3 separate regions of the Homo sapiens genome follow, and regions 1 and 3 are each linked to region 2. Evidence: promoter capture Hi-C in 16 types of primary human blood cells and fetal thymus (Javierre and others, 2016). All regions are on one chromosome and are shown on one strand. Each heading gives the region's core, a stretch centred on a gene start or on the middle of the fragment in contact. The rest is flanking DNA. Distances are from core to core; before and after follow the strand shown. Region 1 holds the start of NFE2 (nuclear factor, erythroid 2). Region 2 holds the start of GTSF1 (gametocyte specific factor 1). Region 3 overlaps CBX5 (chromobox 5).

Region 1 (2,700 bases), core at 201-2,700, 170 kb before region 2:
ACTCTTAGCCTGGTGGTCCTACCCAGAAAGATTTTTATCATAATCCCTAAGTACTCACAGAATGATACGGAGCTTCATGATTAGGAATACAGAGTGAGGACTATTCGGAGAGGGATGATGGAGAGAGGAATACATTTGGCCTTAGCTGCTGCCCCAGGGCTCTTAACTTCCTTAACGAGGGGGAACGATGAGAGGGGGCTTGCCTCAGGATCCCTTTTCTGAGGCTTATTTGACCACCTCACCTCTCCAGGTGTCAATAGGTGCAGTGAAAGGATGAGGAGGGATTAGTAAAACTTGGGGTATTGGTTAACCGGTAAGCAACCTATTTAGAAAGATTAGGGAGAACTCCCGAAGAGAGAGAGACACACAGAGATGAGACAGAATGAAGGGGAAAAAAAGGAGGGAGAGAGATTTAAGCATAGTGAGCTCAGTGCCCTAGGGACATGCATGACTCAAACAAATGTGTGAGAACAAAGAAGAGGGGGACGAGTTTCTGCTATTGTGTCACTTCATCCCTGGACCCCAAACTCCAGTCCTTTGGTACCGATGTCTAGGGGATCCCAGCCCCAGCAGTTCTGATACCTCCTCTCTTCTCTTCCACTGCTTCCCAAGCCCCTATTTCCCAAGCAGCCAAGAGTTCCAGTTAGAAGCAACTATGCTGGGGTTGGGATGTCTTCCTTCTCCCTCCAGGTCCAGCTGATCTCTACTGCCCCTGGGCACAGAGAAGAGAAAGGGCAAAGGAGCCAACAACCCAGAGGCAATCTCCCATCCAACCCCCGCACCTTGCAACACTTCTCAGAGGTTCAGATATCCAGTGTTTCCAATTCCTCAGCTTTCCCTAAACCTTCTCAGCTGCCTAGACAGGGCAGAGTAATGGAATGGAGTTGGGGAAAGGGTAGTCTATTGGTTCCCTCAGGGTAGCCCACCAGTTGAAGGATTCCTCCTGGCTACTCCCCAGCCCCTCAGCGGTGCCTTGCCTCTGGAGACCCCTCTCTGATCCCCATTCACAGCCTCCACCCCAAGGATCCCAGAGCACCCAAGAAACCACTTAGGTCTTCTCCTAGAGGAGTTCCCAAATATGTCAGATTCCTAAACCAGGGGCAATCTAGAAAGTCTGAGGTCTCCTAGGATACCGAAAGTTGGTTATTTTCCCCCCTCACCTCCTTCACCCCCCAGCCTGCCCCTCGGATCTCACTGGAATCCGCCCCCCCCACACACACCCTGCCTTTCAGGCACCTGTGGTGGAGTCACAGCAGGGTGAGGAGAGAGATGAGGCTCCCGGTGTTGTCTCTGGGGAGGCTGAGCCTGAGCTGACACTGCTGGACGAGGATCCCGGCTACCTTTGAGAATCTGCGAGGACCGCGCCCCGCCCCCGGGCCATTGCTGAGCGCTGAGTGTGGAAGCTCAGGCTGAGCTGAGCACAGGAGCCCCAAGCAGGCGCACCAGCGTCTGAAGCCCTCGGCCTGAGTTCTCAGTCCTTCCTCCAACCCTCCCCTTTCCCCGTGGCTCTCCTCTCCTCCTGCCCCTTTCGGCCAAGAGAGGAAACTTGAGCCCGATGTGGTTTCTGCCCACACCCCGCCCCCACCTTGCTCCTGGCCAGCGGGGGCACACATGGCTCCAAGCCTCTCCCAGCCCTCCTTTTCAGCCCAGGAGTCCAGCCAGGTCTGCGTTTCTCCCATGCATTTGACGAATTCCAACCTGATGGTCCACTCGAATGTGACCTTTAAACTTTATACAGGTTGTCGTCGCCTTGTGTCCCCACGGCTCTCCTAGGGACAGGGAAACTGAGTCATATCAAGGTGGAAGGCAGCTGAAGGTAAGGACCAGGTGTCTAGCTTCCCAGCTGTCTAGGCAGTTGGACGTTTAGGGTATAGCCTTCATTTACAGAAAACCTGGGCTCTGGGAACAAGGGCAGGGGAACTATTTGGAGGAGGAGGGGCAACTGACTGCTTTGATGTGTCCTTTCACCTGTAGCCTTCTCCCCTCCCCCCTCAGCCTCAGAAGTCCCAGGACAAAGGATTCTTTCTTGGCCAGGTTTTTGTCAGTGTGTGAAGGGAGTTAGGTGGGGGGCCACCCAGCAGGGAGATTATTCACCTCCCGTAAAGGGGACCCCAGGTGTCCTTTGTCCTCCTTTCTCCCAGGCAAAGCACCCCAGCCACATGGCACCCAACTCTGTTAGGCCAGTAAGTACCCTTATTCATCTTTTTTTTTTTTTTTTTCCAGAGAGGGGCTCACTCTGTCTCCCAGGCTGGAGTGCAGTGGTGTGAACATGTTTCACTACAGTCTCAAACTCCCAGGCTTAAGCAATCCTCCCACCTCAGCCTCCCAAGTAGCTGGTTCTATGGGTCAGTGCAACCATGCCCAGCTAATTTTTTTTTTTTTTTTTTTTTTTGGTAGAAGTGGTGTCTCACTATATTGCCTTGGCTGGTATTGAATTCTTGGGCTCAAGCAATCCTCCCCTCTTGGCCTCCCAAAGTGCTGGGATTACAGGCATGAGCCACCTCACCCAGCCCACTTATTCATCTTTTTGCCTGCAAGCTACACCACCAAAGCCCCAGGTCAAACATCTTTCTCCACAGACTGTGAGAAAAGAGCCTTTCTTCCTCCTAATTTGTAATGGCTTTCAGCTCTATATGTCTAGCTTCAATCCTGACATCTGCAGCTTACATTTTTTCTTCTTACAATGTTCAAGTTAAATTA
Region 2 (2,700 bases), core at 104-2,603:
ACTTTTCTTAAACATGATCAGGAAGGGCCACACTAACATTGTCCCTTTTTCTAGTGAGGTTTCACCTCCTCTCATCCCAATCTTCAGTGCTAAAGTGGCAATACTTTAAGCTTCTCCAATTAATACTCATTCCCTCTATGCACTAAGGGAAAACCTCTCAATGTTAGGACTCAAGAACTGTCCATATTATGGATAACAGAGTCACAAGAGAACAAATCTGTAACAGGAATGTGAAACATTAAAAGAGAAATGGTTTCACAGTTTGAATCCTTTTCTATTAGAAATCTCTTCTATTGAGCACTGAGACTAAATACATTTATTATTGTGGGAAAAACCTGAATTTATATAAAACCATCCCCATACGAAACTTCTGAAAATTGTCTGTCTCTAGAGCATGCTCTCCTTTGGCCCCTCACACAATTCTACACTCCTCACCACCCCTCCCCCCATTCTGTGACATAAGCAGCGTTAGAACCTATGATAGGAAATACAAGTGATCAGCTAGAACTCTAGTTTTTTTGCTACTGAGCCCATTTGTTAATGACAATCATTAGTGAATTTGTCTTAAAAATATTTTTCATATTTATGTTTGGATCAAGAAATCCCCACCGTCTTTTTGTATATATTTCACTTATACATAGTTACTTCATACTTTTTCATTAAAAATAAGAGTTTTGGAAGGAAGAACCAAGTATGTTTCTTGATTTTAAGTGATGAGCACCAGATTCAGCAGCTTGTAGGAAGCCAACCTATTCTTCCCGGACAAAAGGACGAATTACAGTACACTAGGGGCACTGGAATTCACAGTACCATCACTTAGCCGTGTCTGTTTTAAGTATCTTCCGCATCAAACTGTTAACGGGATTCTTTACCTTTTCCCTACTACTAGATCACGGTGAAATAGACAAGCTACGCCGGAAGCAATCAAGTTTAGGGTATGGATGTAGTCGGCGGCTACTGGTTAAACGCTTAACAGAATTCCGGCCTTAGTAAAAGAATCATTTTTCTTCCTTTAAACAACAACAACAACAACAAAATCACAGTAGACTTAATCAATGAGACTAAATAAGAGAAAGTGGGGGAGGTGGTTAACTTAAAAAAAACATAGAAAAGGCGCCAAGGAGGCCCTCGAGTGGGCAATGCAGCGAAACAGGTTGGTAGCCAAAATAGCTGCATTGAGAGCCCACAAGGCTGAAGGCTACCAGCAGAAAAGCGAAATGAGGATATTAGAAGGTGAAGGTATCCCGGTACGCAAAATAGGAATTGCTTAGAGGCGCCCCGGGGTGCCTTTCCTTACCTCGGTGGACACACACCTTCCTCACAGTCACCTTCCTCCCACGCAAGCCCCAGCAACGGCCACTTCCGGCGCCTAACGTTGGGAGGTGGGGCGAGGGGCCGGCACTTCCTGTGACTGGGAGTCTCGGTTCTGGCTGAGTGTGGGGCAGGGTGGATCAGCTGTGGAGTTCACCTGTGAGCCCCTAGGGTCAGCTCCCTGATGACCCTTTCCCACGAGGATCTCCTCCTTGGGCACCCCATCTTTGGGGCCATCCTCCCCTGGCCCCCAGAACAACAGTGGCCTTGAGAGGGTAGAACTCGCATTTCTTTCCCTGGGTTTTGTGGCGGCCATCTTAGAAAAGGCAGATGAGCACTTAGAAATGGGCACCTGCGATTACCTCAGGAGTTCAAGACCAGCCTGGCCAACATGGTGAAACCTCGTCTCTACTAAAAATACAAAAATTAGCTGGGTGTGGTGGCGGGCGCCTGTAATCCCAGCTACTTGGGAGGCTGAGGCAGGAGAATTGCTTGAACCCGGGAGGCGGAGGCTGCAGTGAGCCGAGATTGCACCACTGCACTCCAGCCTGGGCGGCAGAGTGAGACTCCGTCTCAGGAAAAAAAAAAAAAAAAAAAAAAAAATGGCGCCTGAGGGAATGGGACTGATGGAACTGGTTAGAGGTGGGGAGCTGCCTAGAAAGAAGCCTTGTTTGTGGAAGTTGTCTAGATAGAAAGGTAATTTAGATTTTGAGGGAAGAGAAGAGGAATTATAAAGGAGATACGCAGTGCAGCCACAAAACAATCACCAAGGACAGGAATTTTGTGTCTGGCTGTTCTTGTTTAGAATGTGTTGTAAAATCCCAAAATTCAAAAGGCACTAACTATCTGAGAATGCTTGGTAGGATGATGGTTGTTGCTGCCTGATGAAAGCGAGTTTTAGAGTTGGGGAGAGAGCTCAATGAAGAGTTGGAGAGGACAAGAAGGCCGGAAGGTTACAACTTGTTAAGGGAAAACCAAACGTAGTGTGAGGCTTTGTTCTGGGGAAAAAAAGTGTAAGCTGCAGTTCTTGTCCCCAGAGTGCTTAGAAAAACGACTCCCAAAGTGGATGAAAGGTTTAATAGCAGTACAAAAAATGCCAAAAAAAGTGGTAGAGACTGTAAATTCCTGTAAGGAAAAAAATTAATGGGGCCTGAAATGACCTGGGAAGGCATTATAGAGAAAAGGGACTTGTAGCCTTTGAAGGTTAGACAAAAAAAGGAAGGTGTTGACACTACAAGTAGATCTGGTGGTAATATTTTTCAAAACCAAGAAGTAAAAGATATGACAAAACATTCTGTGCTGTTCAAGATGTAGGAGGCAGTCTGGGTGATTAGTCTGGGCAGTGAAATATTGGGATTTCTACAGCATTTCAGTGGTGTAGAGCCCAAA
Region 3 (2,780 bases), core at 76-2,575, 230 kb before region 2:
AGTTGATAAACTAGAAAGCAATCATCAACTAATTGCAGACTATAAAGATACCCAAAAATCCTTCTCAAAATAGCACCCCAGTGGATGGTAGTCAAGCTTTCCAGCAACCAGTTATTGATGATTCATGGCCTACATCAAATGAATAAGACTTCGATTTTTGATACCAACAATGTCCCCAAACCAAACTTAACAAAGCTAATGACTGCTTCTCAGTAATTCAGGAAAAATTTAGAAATATAGCATTGTGAGCAAAAAACAGAAGCTTGTTTTGGGGACAGGAATTCCAAGAGTCTGAGTGAAGATGTGGTTGGAAGCCTTCTCAAACATGCAAGTCCAGGGCTTTTCTCATCCTGCCTTCCCATCACCTGACCCTCCTCTGAAACCACCCCTCAAGTCTTTAGCAAAGTCAGGTATTACAGAGGACAGAGCAACAAAGAGGGCAACTGGAATTTAAAAAAAATTGTATTACTGAAAGTGCTCCATGAGAGCAAACAAATAATGACAATTTTATTTTTGTCCACAAAAATTTAATAGAGGTGGCCAGGCACGGTGGCTCATGCCTGTAATTCCAGCACTTTGGGAGGCCAAGGTGGGCAGATCACAAGGTCAGGAAATCGAGACCATCCTGGCAAACATGGTAAAACCCCATCTCTACCAAAAATACAAAAATTAGCTGGGCATGGTGGCACACACCTGTAGTCCCAGCTACTCGAGAGGCTGAGGCAGGAGAATCGCTTGAACCCAGGAGGTGGAGGGTACAGTAAGCCAAGATTGTGCCACTGCACTCCAGCCTGGTGACAGAGCGAGACTCTGTCTAAAAAAAATAAATAAATAATAGAGGTGAATGTCTGCATTAGGATCAAGACAAGAAGAAGACAGACAATCACTTTGGAATTCTGAGACTACCTCCAAGAATCATCCACGGAAGGATGTCAGCCATTTAACCAGGGCTACGGATCAAAAAGGAAAAAATACAGTCAGTGGACAAGTAGAAGAGTCTCCTGAAAAATATCCGTATTTGAAAAGGCAGCAGGAGTTGATAGAAAACATAACTAAAAAAGTAGAAGACACTGTTAAATTTGAATCTGGATCCTATATAGCTTCTTCTCTGGGATCTACTGAGGAGTGAAATCTAAATGAAGATTTAGCTTAGAAAGCATGAAGATAGTATGTTCCAATTTTAAATAAAAATTATATTGTCTGAAAGACAATACAATTTTAGTACTGGGGGAAAAAAAACTAGATTGTTATTTGAAGAAGAAAACATCATGGTTCTCTCCAGGTTTAAAATGGGTGCTCCCATGTAGGCTGATTTTCCCGGCATTTGATCTTAACTTGAAGGCCATCTGCCCAGCCCAGCAATCAAAGGGCTGCTAAGCTGTCCTTGGTAGCCTCTACTGGGCAAAGCTGTGCTATAACTCTGAAGAAAGGGAGATCTTTTAATGTTGATTACTGAAAGGCTTAGAAAGATGTCTTGAAAGAGGACTAAACACAAGAAAAATAAATTTTTAGCATTTGAGACTTAGGTGTTTAAGAGTGCTTAGCTCTTAACTATTAACTCTTCTGAGGGGAGAAAGCTCCATGAAACAGGTTTCTGTTTGAGGCTGTAATTCTTCTAGGGCAAGAACATCTACTCAACACTAACAAATGCTGGAAGCAGGCATCTGATTTCCTTTGTGCTAAGGGCTGAAATCAATACTGGCCTCTGGCTCCCTACATTCCTATAGAACCAGCTGCAGGTAGGCAGGAAGAGAACAAAAGTTGTTTTGGCGGCACTCAGTACAATAAACCGAAGACAAAAAAGACAGAGTAAAGTCTATTAACAGATGGTAAGTAGTAGATGATACTGGGGTTATTTCGGTAAAAGAATATCAGATTTTTATGAATGTCTTAAATATTACCTATAACCACAGCAGCCACATGCCCCAGGTTTCTCAGAACCAATCTCAGTACCAAATATTGTCATGTTCTTTGTCCACATACTAGGTTTTTGGTTTTAAAAATAAGGTCGCTGCAGTTTACATGCCCACTGCTACTGGGAGGCATACACTGGGCCACTTGGATAGGCTGTCATTTTCTGCAAATCAAGAGACCCATATCACCTCCTCAGGAGCTCTGGCCTATTTTTGTCCTATTCTTGTCTACCCTAATTGATATCCTTGGCTACATTTATGATAAATGTTTCCTGACCATCCTTTCCTTCTTTTAGATACCGATCAGATTAAGTACAAGCAATTGTCAATTATCCAGCACTTGATCTAGGCCTTTAATTCCTTCAGAGAGAGAAGGAATATAGAGATAAAACTCCCACCCACTTGAGGTATGGTTTATGAGCTCTTGCCCAATCACATTACCATTCAGAAGGATTTTCCTGGCTGACTTAAACCAAAAGCTTCATTGTTCCAGTCTGTCATGTCACTGCAGCAACAGCTGTCACCTCAATTATGCAGTATAATTTTTGACATAATTTATATAAGCACACAGAATTCAATCAGCAGCTGAGCAGGGAAGCAATGTTAACAAATGCTATGAATGGGTATATGATTTGCATATTATGTGGCTCATCTGTGGACTGGAGCAATCCATCCATTCCCCTCATTACTCTGAATAATCTAGAAATGGTAGATGCTCCTGGCCAGACAGCTGTATGTTTTAAAAATCAAAAACAACAAGAAAAGCAGCCTCATGGCTGGTGCGCTCTAGAATTAAGGCTATATTAAGCATTTATTCTTATTTCCTCAGCTTTGGGGCTGGGACAAGGATCCTCAAAACCCTGCTAT

The links. Contacts are between HindIII fragments. The CHiCAGO score rates a contact against its expected background, and 5 or more counts as called.
Region 1: a contact is called between the fragment with the promoter of NFE2 here and the fragment with the promoter of GTSF1 in region 2, in 14 of 17 cell types (naive CD8 T cells, M1 macrophages, monocytes and 11 more). The highest score is 18.2, in naive CD8 T cells.
Region 3: a fragment that was not itself captured here is called in contact with the fragment with the promoter of GTSF1 in region 2 in 1 of 17 cell types (neutrophils); the score reaches 5.5 in neutrophils.

What each region holds. Positions count from the first base shown.
Region 1 is chr12:54,299,565-54,302,264 of GRCh38, forward strand. It overlaps NFE2 (nuclear factor, erythroid 2), which reads right to left and starts at 1,451. Exons shown (of 3, transcript NM_001136023.3): 1 at 1,237-1,451. RefSeq lists a cis regulatory region at 1,223-2,197 and an enhancer at 1,598-2,338. The HindIII fragment of the contact is 10,882 bases long and covers 1-2,700 here.
Region 2 is chr12:54,472,249-54,474,948 of GRCh38, forward strand. It overlaps GTSF1 (gametocyte specific factor 1), which reads right to left and starts at 1,354. Exons shown (of 9, transcript NM_144594.3): 1 at 1,298-1,354. RefSeq lists enhancers at 1,431-1,957, 1,623-1,682. The HindIII fragment of the contact is 3,434 bases long and covers 109-2,700 here.
Region 3 is chr12:54,237,372-54,240,151 of GRCh38, forward strand. CBX5 (chromobox 5) reads right to left here. Exons shown (of 5, transcript NM_012117.3): 5 at 1-2,780. Among named protein-coding and RNA genes, the nearest start is that of MIR3198-2, 7.3 kb to the left of the region's middle. The HindIII fragment of the contact is 2,130 bases long and covers 261-2,390 here.